Linked DNA regions of Homo sapiens: all the other regions are linked to region 1. Evidence: promoter capture Hi-C in human tissues and cell types (Jung and others, 2019). All regions are on one chromosome and are shown on one strand. The core of a region is centred on a gene start or on the middle of the fragment in contact, and the rest is flanking DNA. Distances in the headings are between cores, read along the strand shown. Region 1 holds the start of NUP214 (nucleoporin 214). Region 2 overlaps PRRC2B (proline rich coiled-coil 2B). Region 3 holds the start of SNORD62A (small nucleolar RNA, C/D box 62A).

Region 1 (2,951 bases), core at 319-2,818:
ACCTCAGCCTCCCAAAGTGCAAGCTCACAGGCATGAGCCACCACACTCGGCCCTCATTTTTTTCTGATATGGAACACTTCATGAATTTGTCTGTCATCCATGTAAAGGGGCCATAATAGTCTTCTCTGCATGATCCCAATTTTATATGTGCTGCCAAAGGGAGTGCGAGATTACCATCTTCTAAGTCTGTGGTTCTATTAATAAAACCTTTTTTTCTTCTACCCCAGCATATCTGAGGAATATGACACAACCCCATTAGGTGGCTCACCACAGGTGGTGATTCTCAAAAAATAATCACTATTCTAGGACAGCACGGTAGCTCACGCCTATAATCCCAGCACTTTGGGAGCCAGAGGAGGGCGGATCACGTTAGGTCAGGAGTTCGAGACCAGCCTGGCCAACATCGTGAAACCCAGTCTCTACCAAATGATATAAAAAATTAGTGGGGCGTGGTGGCAGGCGCCTGTAATACCAGCTACTAGGGAGGTTGAAGCAGGAGAATCGCTTGAGCCGGGGAGGTGGAGGTTGCAGGGAGCCGAGATCATGCCACTGCACTCCAGCTTGGGTGACAGAGCAAGACTCTGTCTCAAAAAAAAAAAAAAATCACTATTCTAAACATGGTATTACTATGCCCTAAATGCATTTTAGTGATTTATTGTTCACACAGATGCCTAAAATCTTCCTGCAACTTACTTCTTTTCACTATTTAAAACAGATGTAGCCCGTCTGTTGTACCCTCATTCTGTCAGAACCCATATAAGAACTATTAAACACACCATCCTGAAGTTATCCCTGGGGGACTCCCACGTTGCTATCACTGGGACCACTTGGCCCTCCCTTTAGGTTCCTGACTTTAGGCTGATATACCGAGGTCAAAATAGTCTTCCTAGTCCAATCAACTAAAGGTTCTGCAGGATGGATGACCTTCCCTGACTCTACGTTAGGCAAGCCCGTATCACCTTACAGAAGTACTGGGAGAGCAAAGGTCTTAAATGATGCTGGCTTTCAGCCCCGCGTCAAATGTGACTTTAGGGAAATTACTTTCCGAGCCTCAACTTACTCCTCTACGTTAACGACTACTTCGTAGGGCTGCCGCGATGACTACCACAGTGCCTGGCACACAGTCAACACTCAATAAACAGCAGTTATTGCCACTATTGTGACCGCCCCAGGAAGTAGCTAGGGTAACTCAACAGCCGTGCACGAGACCAGGATGGGACTGGGAAACTGCATTCGGTGGGGCTATCACGCCAGCGGCGCGGCAGACGCGCTGGTGAGAGCTGTGAACGCGGTAAACTGTTCAAGCAGGAGGCGGGACAGCCAGCACCGCGCTTCGCCTTTCAGCTGGGCTCCAAGGCAACGCCAGGACTAAAGAAGGGAGGGAGGCCCCGGTTAGTCTCTGACCTTCATCTCCCGCTCGGGAATCATGGCATCCATCTCGTCTCCCATCGCGCCGCCCTCAGTGTGTCGAAGCAGCCAACGCTGCCTCCCACGGCCTTGCCCACGGAACCCAGGCCGCTCGACAGCAAACTTCCTCCCCTCAGCGCCAGCGGCGCGCAGTTGACCTCGCATTTCCGGCGCGCTTTGGTGACGTCAAGCTTGGTCAGAGGAAGCCGCGGAACCTAGCGAAGCCGCGCGTTCTTCCGGCCGCCGCTCCCCATTGGCCAGCTCGGGCTGAGTAGTGGCGTGGCCGTGAGGTCCCTGCGCCTGCGCCCTGGATGGTCCTGGTGCCGCTCCCGCCTTCGCAGCCAGCGCGGGCTTACCTAGTGTTAAGTCTCTCTTCTTGGGTGGCCCACGCCTAAGCGACCTATGCTTCTTGTTCTTCTGAAATCTTACAGTTCCCCTTAGATGTAGGTTGGCTATTGGTAGCTTCCGATTCAGATAAGTTTGGAACTTGACAGATGTTTTCGGGGGGCTGCTTTAGAGAGAGGCTTTGGACTATGCAAGGGGAGGAAGGGAGGTTCAGAAAAACGGGGTCGGGGGGTCGGCAGGGACGACTCTTAAAGTGTGGAAGGTGGAAGGCTGGGAGGGGAGATTAAAGGGCACCGAAGACCAGCTTTGTTTGCTCCTATCAAGGTGATCCTTTCCAGAGCAAGAGCCATATCCATGTCTAGTCGCACGAGTTTGTGCCAAGTCCTTTGCAAAAACCTTCAGATGTGGGATCTCATGTAATCTTGAAGACATCTTAGTCGTCCTAGGGGTTATTTATTTAATTGATGAGACGCGGGTGGCTCATGCCTATAATCCCAGCACTTGGGAGGCGGAGACAGGAGGATTGCTTGAGACCAGGAGTTTGAGACCAGCCTCGGCAACATGGCGAGACCCCGTCTCTATAAAAAACAAAACAAAACCACAAAAATTAGCCAGCAGTGATGGCATGCGTATGTAGTCTCAGCTACTCGGGAGGCTGAGGTGGGAGAATTGCCTGAGCCCAGGAGGTTGAGGCTACAGGGAGCTGTGATTGCACCATTGCACTCCAGCCTGGGTGACAGAGCCAGGCCCTGTCTCAAAAAGTAAATAAAAGGCCGGGCGCGGTGGCTCACGCCTGTAATCCCAGCACTTTGCGAGGCCGAGGCGGGCGGATCACGAGGTCAGGAGATGGAGACCATCCTGGCTAACACGGTGAAACCCCGACTCTACTAAAAATACAAAAAATTAGCCGGGCGCGGTGGCGGGCACCTGTAGTCCCAGCTACTCGGGAGGCTGAGGCAGGAGAATGGCGTGAACCCGGGAGGCGGAGGTTGCAGTGAGCAGAGACAGCGCCACTGCAGTCTGGCCTGGGCGAAAGAGCGAGACTCCGTCTCAAAAAAAAAAAAAAAAAAAAAGTAAATAAAAATAGGCTGGGAGCAGTGGCTCACGCCTGTAACCACAGTACTTTGGGAGGCCGAGGTGGGTGGAACACCTGAGGTCAGGAGCTCGAGACCAGCCTGGCCAACATGGTGAAACCCCGT
Region 2 (3,334 bases), core at 189-2,688, 310 kb before region 1:
CTCCTCCGTTTACCTCTTTGGGTCTTGCTGATCCTGCTTGTTTGCCCATCCCGTCCCGTCCTTGGGTACTATCACGATGTTGGGGTCGTTTCCTTTGTTTTCAGACTTCAAGCTTGGCAGGTTTGCAGGCGGTGGCATGCGCCGGGCTGCAGCAACTTTCCCAAGACTCTGTAAGCCATGTCTAGGAATAACTGCAGGGAGAGGGACATGGAACAGACACCATGCAAAAAGGTCACAGAAGGAAAGAAGCCTGATGCATTCAGCTGTTCTTTCAATCTCTAAGTGATCATAACAAAGCTAACCCAACAAAAAACAAAGGGCAGACCAGCAGTGGGACAAACAAGTGTTTGGTGTCACTTTAGTCACTTTACAAGCTCTTCACTGAAGACTACAGGGACAAAGGAGCTGCTAAAACCTGTAAAAAGGCTTCCATTTCACTGATGGGCAGGACAAGGCTCGCAGACTTTACAACATGGGTGAGGAGACAGGCCCAGGAACCTCCAGCTTACAGAGGAACCACCTCTCTGCAAGTTGAGACAGCTCTGGTCTCATTACAGGACTAAAGGGACAGCCTCTGCCTAGATCCAAAACAAGACTGAACAGGAGCCCTTCGACATTCATGAAGTCTTCATGGGGTGTGAAAAGGATCAACAAGAACCTTTCCAACAAGTTCTAGAATATCAAGAACCATGAAAGCTAAAAAGGCTGATAACACACCAGGCGTGGTGGCTCACACGTGTAATTGCAGCACTTTGGGAGGCCGAGGTGGGTAGATCGCTTGAGCCCAGGAGTTCGAGACCAGCCTGGGCAATGTGACAAAACCCTGTCTCTACTAAAAATACAAAAATTAGCCAGTCTCATAACCCAGTCTCTAAATAAATAAATAAATTTTAAAACAAAATTTAAAAAATTCTTTAAGGATGGCCGGGCGCGGTGGCTCATGCCTGTAATCTCAGCACTTTGGGAGGCCGAGGCGGGCGGATCACGAGGTCAGGAGATCGAGACCATCCTCGCTAACACGGTGAAACCCTGTCTCTACTAAAAATACAAAAAATTAGCCGGGAGTGATGGCGGGCGCCTGTAGTCCCAGCCACTCAGGAGGCTGAGGCGGAAGAATGGCGTGAACCCAGGAGGTGGAGCTTGCAGTGAGCCGAGATTGCGCCACTGCACTCCATCCAGCCTGAGCAACAGAGTGAGACTCCGTCTCAAAAAAAAAAAAAAATTCTTTATTAAGGATAACACTGGCCAGGCGCAGTGGCTCATGCCTGTAATCCCAGCACCCTGGGAGGCCGAGGTGGGTGGATCACCTAAGGTCGGGAGTTCGAGACCAGCCTGACCAACATGGAGAAACCCCATCTCTATTAAAAATACAAAATTAGGCTGGGCACGGTGGCTCACGCCTGTAATCCCAGCACTTTGGGAGGCCGAGGCAAGCCGATCACGAGGTCAGGAGATCAAGACCGATCTGGCTAACACGGTGAAACCCCGTCTCTACTAAAAATACAAAAAATTAGCCAGGCATGATGGTGGGCGCCTGTCGTCCCAGCTACTTGGGAGGCTGAGGCAGGAGAATGGCGTGAACCCGGGAGGCAGAGCTTACAGTGAGCCAAGATCACACCACTGCACTCCACCCTGCATGACAGAGTGAGACTCCGTCTCAAAAAAGAAAAACAAAAAACAAAAAGCAAAATTAGCCGGGCGTGGTGGCACATGCCTGTAATCCCAGCTACTCAGGAGGCTGAGGCAGGAGAATCACTTGAACCTAGGAGGTGAAGGTTGCACTGAGCTGAGATCACGCCATTGCACTCCAGCATGGGCAATAAGAGCGAAACTGTGTCTCAAAAAAAAAAAAAAAGGATAACACTAATGCCTATTAAGTCCCATTCTACCCATCAGGATAAAAATCCACAGCTTTGGCCAGGCACAGTGGCTCACACCTGTAATCCCAGCACTTTGGGAGGCCGAGGCGGGTGGATCACCTGAGGTCACGAGTTTGAGACCAGCCTCACTAACATGGGGAAACCCCATCTCTACTAAAAATACAAAAATTAGCTGGGCGTGGTGGCACACATCTGTAATCCTTGCTACTCGGGAGGCTGAGGCAAGAGACTCGCTTGAGCCCAGAAGGTGGAGGTTGCAATGAGCTGAGATCATGCCACTGAACTCCAGCCTGGGTGACAGAGTGAGACTCTGTCTCCAAAACATATATATACACACACACACACACACACACACACACACACACATACACACACACCTATAGATATCTATAGATAGATATCTATCTATCTATCTATAGATATCTATAGATATATCTCCCCAGCTTCAATAAGGTAATAGATGGAGAAAATTCCACTACAGAAAGAGTCAGGATGCTCAAGGCTCTGAAATCATACCTCAAGTAGGAAGTAGAGAGTGATTCTACATGCACACCCAGAAGCCTGGTGTGCACGGACCACATCTGTCTAACCAGGTGAGGGACTCTGGGTTTCTGGGATATGTCACTCGGAGAAAGTTTGAGGAACTGGCCTTCAACCCTGGGCCTTACCTGAGGATCTAATCGCGTCTACTGATTTTCCTTTATACTTATCAAACAGGCTGAGAGTCGAGTACTTGCTTTTCCCATCCTTGCCCTTGGTAATTTGCCCCAAACGATCGGACATTGCGATGAAATGTCATCTAGTAAGGAAATTTTTCTCGGCACCGCTCCCGATCTGCCTTTGAAATAGAGAAGAAAAAAAAAAAAAGAGAGAGAAAAAAAAAAAAGAGTGTCACTACAGCAGAACCTCTGATCCAGAGGAGTGAATCCTTCACGAATCATGGATCTCCTTGAAGATCTGAAGATGGCTTTGGACTGTCCTTAGAAAACTGCTCTCACCACCCACAGGCTGTTCATTCACATTTACAGGGCATTTATGTAGACACCCCGAGGCGATCTGTGGAGTACCCCCCCAACCCCCACCTGCTGTTAATTCCTCTCACTCTGAGTTGGCTGGAGTCTACTGCACACCAACCACACTGACATGTAAACTTCAACAGAGCCCTCTCCAAGTCAAGGACAGCTCAAGATGGAAAAATAAATGCTCAGTACTTTAACACATCCATGTATAACACTGAAAATAAGGCTAGCAGAATAGGGGAGGTACACAACCCACTTACACCACGGCTGTTCATCTCAAGGGCAAGCAAAACCAAATCAAAGGAGGGCAGCCAGAGTATTATCCTTCAGAAATAATCAAGTATATACACTTTTCAAAATAAACAACTAGTACCCAGAGAGAAAACATCTGCTTAGGCAACAAAAGGGCTCTCTAAGCTACACACATGGAAAACA
Region 3 (3,098 bases), core at 139-2,638, 360 kb before region 1:
TGTACGAGGCACAGGACATCAGCCACAATGACTGGCAGCCACACTGACGGAGAAGCCCGCGGTGGGGAGGAGACAGGGAGTCAAGGGGAGAGGAGGAGGAAGGAGCAAGGAAAGGAGGCAAGATGACATGGAAAAGCAAAACACGGCCCACCACATATCAGCTCGCCCCAGGCCTCTCCTAGAGCACAGTTAACAACGGACTGAAGAGTGATTCAGAGCAAACTCCCACCCCTCCCCGCCCCACTGGCCCCAAAGCAGACAAGCACCAAACAGCTGCAGGACGAAGGCTGCACACAGGGCCAAGGCCCTGGCTGTGAGCTGCCAGCTCCGCAAGCTGGTACATGAGCTCACCTGAAGGGCTGCAAGGAGCTGAAGATCTCCTGGGACTGGGACACAGGAAGCCCACCCCTCAGTCCAAGCTGAGCTTGTGCCTGCAGAGATGTGTGAAGGGAGATCGGGATCTGCTGGGCAGCGGCGGCCTGTGAACGGGAAAACGGGGTCGGGGAGGTAACCGCAAGGCCCATCCAGGTGGTTCTTCCCCTCCCACCTCCCCTGCCCCTCTCCACATGGCTGCTGGAACACTGCCCAAAATTCAAATGCCAGCATGTCATTCCTGGGCTTCCCTTGCTATTGGGATAAAGCCTATAATGAAAAACTGGTAGCAACCCCAAACCACAGCATATCCCTACCCTGGAATTCTACACAGCAACAAAAATGGATCCTAGCACATACGTCAACAGAGGTGAGTTCCAAAAACATAACGCTGAATTTAACAATGCACAAAAAGAAAGATACATGCAGTCTGACCCAGTTATGCAAGAACCAAAATCTTGGTAACCAAACAATACAGCAGTTAAGAACATGTTTTTAAAAAGAGGTCAGCAGAGGCCACATCCTCCATCAGCAAGCCTGCACTTGGAGCAGATTCTGCCTGGAAGTCCACTGTCGTGGCTGTGGAGGCACATGGGTCTGAGGGGCGGCTAGACCATCCCAAAGGCCCAGCACCAGCATTAGAGGGGAGACTTCCAAAAATCACCCCTTGGCAGCACAGAAAGTATGCCAGTCCTGCATAAATAACCAACGCCTGCTCATTTCTAAGACTACCTCTTTCTAATGCATCCATGCCTGGGAGTTTAGGCCTTTCTTCTCTTCATCAGAAGGATACCTGATCACCAAAGAAAATTCCATTTTAGCTAATTCCCCGGCTAGGACACAGGAGGGAGAACTTTGAGAAAGGAAAACTAAGCAGAGTCTGGAGCAGCCAACTCCACTCCTCTTCCCTGTCTCGATTATTCGCTTAACAAATGCCTCCTGGCTGCCGTGGCGGGCCAGGTGCTGGTCACCACATGTGAGGGGGATGGAAAACCAGACAGACAATGAGAAATAGATGAGCAAGCCAATTCCGCCCTGCACTGGCTCCTCCCCACCACCCCCAGCCAGGCCACCTGGCTAGCTGCTGTCACCTGTTGGTAACTCTGCTGCTGAGGTATCGTTTGAGGAACCAGCCGGGGCTGACTTGCAAACACATGGCCATCCAGGTACAGGGGCGGGAGGTGGCTGCCTGGAAACAGAGCGGCAAAAGGGACGTAGAAGAGGATCAAGCCTCACTACTTCTCAATGTCCCTGAGGGAAACAGTCTACAGGTCTGCTCTACCCAGGGGACTCAGTGGGGACGAGGGCGTGTGTACAGAGGCTGCTAGGTTCCCTGTGTGCCGGAAGCACACGCCTGCTCACAACACGCCTGGCACGCACCTCAGGGAACGTAGGGAGGGTGCAGCGTCAGACCTAGGAGGAGGGAGGAGGCAGGTGGGCTCTGGCCTACCCTTCCCACCTCCCACTCACCAACTACCCCAGACACTCGAAGGGGCATTCTACTTTAACCAGGGCTGCCTTGGTCTCTCAGTCACTGTCCTCTTCATCTCCCTGCTATTGAGTCCACAGTGGAGGGTCAGAAGGATCTATTGGAATTACATCACTGAGACTGGCAGCTGGGCCCTCAAAACCCCCACGCTTCCCCTTGGGGACACTGGCACACGATAAGGATGGCAGCAATCAGGACAAAAGTAGCTGCCAGTGACTGAGGGCTCTGTTGATACAAAGCCCTTTCCAGGTAAGACCTGGCCTCACGGGTGTGGCCACCCCACGGAGTTTCATGTAAGAGAGGAGAGGACACTGTGGCTCGGCAAGAGCTGCTCACCAGCCGAGGCGACACGGCTCCAGCACATGACCCAGGTCTGACTCAAAGTCAAGCCTTTGCTCGCTCCTGTCACCAGTAGGCAGGAGTGCCTCGCTGTTATCCCCCAGTTCTGTTTCCCAGCGTGGGGAAGCAGGACGTGCACATTACCTGCAGCACATGGGAGCTACGACCACTGGGCCTAAAAACAAGTTGCTACTTCTACATGCTACTTAAGACAAGGCCAGGAGGTGACATTCGGGGCTGTTAATCCGTTTTTCTTGATAATAAATGGAGAAGGACCCCAAGGCCTTGCTCAGGGGATGAGATACCTGGCATAGAAGCAGAAGGTGCTACAGAGGCCACAGGCATGGGTGGCATGGACACTCCACCGAAGGAGCTGTAGTTGACCCCGCTGGAGGCACCCACAGAGGATGGAGGCTGGATGCCTGAGCCAGCGCCGCCTGGAGAGCTCTGCTCCGGCAAACTGGGGGAGTTTTCCCAAGCCTTGCGCGCAGACTCCATCTTCAGAAGCAAGGGGAGGGGGAGGGATGAAAATTACTATCACGCTGGCAGTGGACAGAGCCAATCTAAGCTTTAGGGGTTCGGGGACTCCTCCCTTCTGCCTCTTTGTAAGCTAAGGTACTGGGTGGGCCCTCACCCAGCTCAGGGCTGGTGTTACCTTCAGAGTAAGGTCGGCGGTGGGGAAGGACATTGGGGAGAGACCGATGGCCCTCTGGATGTGATGGTCCCGCCGCAGGATGGGGATACTCTGTGTTAACCCTGCCTGGAGAGGAGGAAAAGGAAACCATGGAACACAAACAGGTGCAGAGATGGCTTTGCCCAAACCCATCCATGGCTCTCCTGAACACACTCAAGGCTCGTCCAAATGTATCTATGACTTGCCCAAACCCATCCATGGCTT

Evidence for each region. Contacts are between HindIII fragments. The study calls those that stand out against the background at their distance.
Region 2: a fragment that was not itself captured here is called in contact with the fragment with the promoter of NUP214 in region 1 in 1 of the 25 tissues and cell types used here (heart left ventricle).
Region 3: a contact is called between a fragment that was not itself captured here and the fragment with the promoter of NUP214 in region 1, in 2 of the 25 tissues and cell types used here (dorsolateral prefrontal cortex and spleen).

Annotation. Positions count from the first base shown.
Region 1 is chr9:131,124,203-131,127,153 of GRCh38, reverse strand. It overlaps NUP214 (nucleoporin 214), which reads right to left and starts at 1,568. Exons shown (of 36, transcript NM_005085.4): 1 at 1,405-1,568. The coding sequence starts at 1,449. It also overlaps the pseudogene RNU6-881P. RefSeq lists an enhancer at 1,370-1,669. The HindIII fragment of the contact is 5,493 bases long and covers 1-2,951 here.
Region 2 is chr9:131,429,474-131,432,807 of GRCh38, reverse strand. PRRC2B (proline rich coiled-coil 2B) reads right to left here. Exons shown (of 32, transcript NM_013318.4): 2 at 2,549-2,714; 3 at 14-191. The coding sequence starts at 2,663. Among named protein-coding and RNA genes, the nearest start is that of PRRC2B, 37 kb to the right of the region's middle. The HindIII fragment of the contact is 4,521 bases long and covers 1-3,334 here.
Region 3 is chr9:131,484,548-131,487,645 of GRCh38, reverse strand. PRRC2B (proline rich coiled-coil 2B) reads right to left here. Exons shown (of 32, transcript NM_013318.4): 24 at 2,856-2,960; 25 at 2,506-2,698; 26 at 1,464-1,561; 27 at 352-479. It overlaps SNORD62A (small nucleolar RNA, C/D box 62A), which reads right to left and starts at 1,981; the gene lies at 1,896-1,981. The HindIII fragment of the contact is 7,477 bases long and covers 1-3,098 here.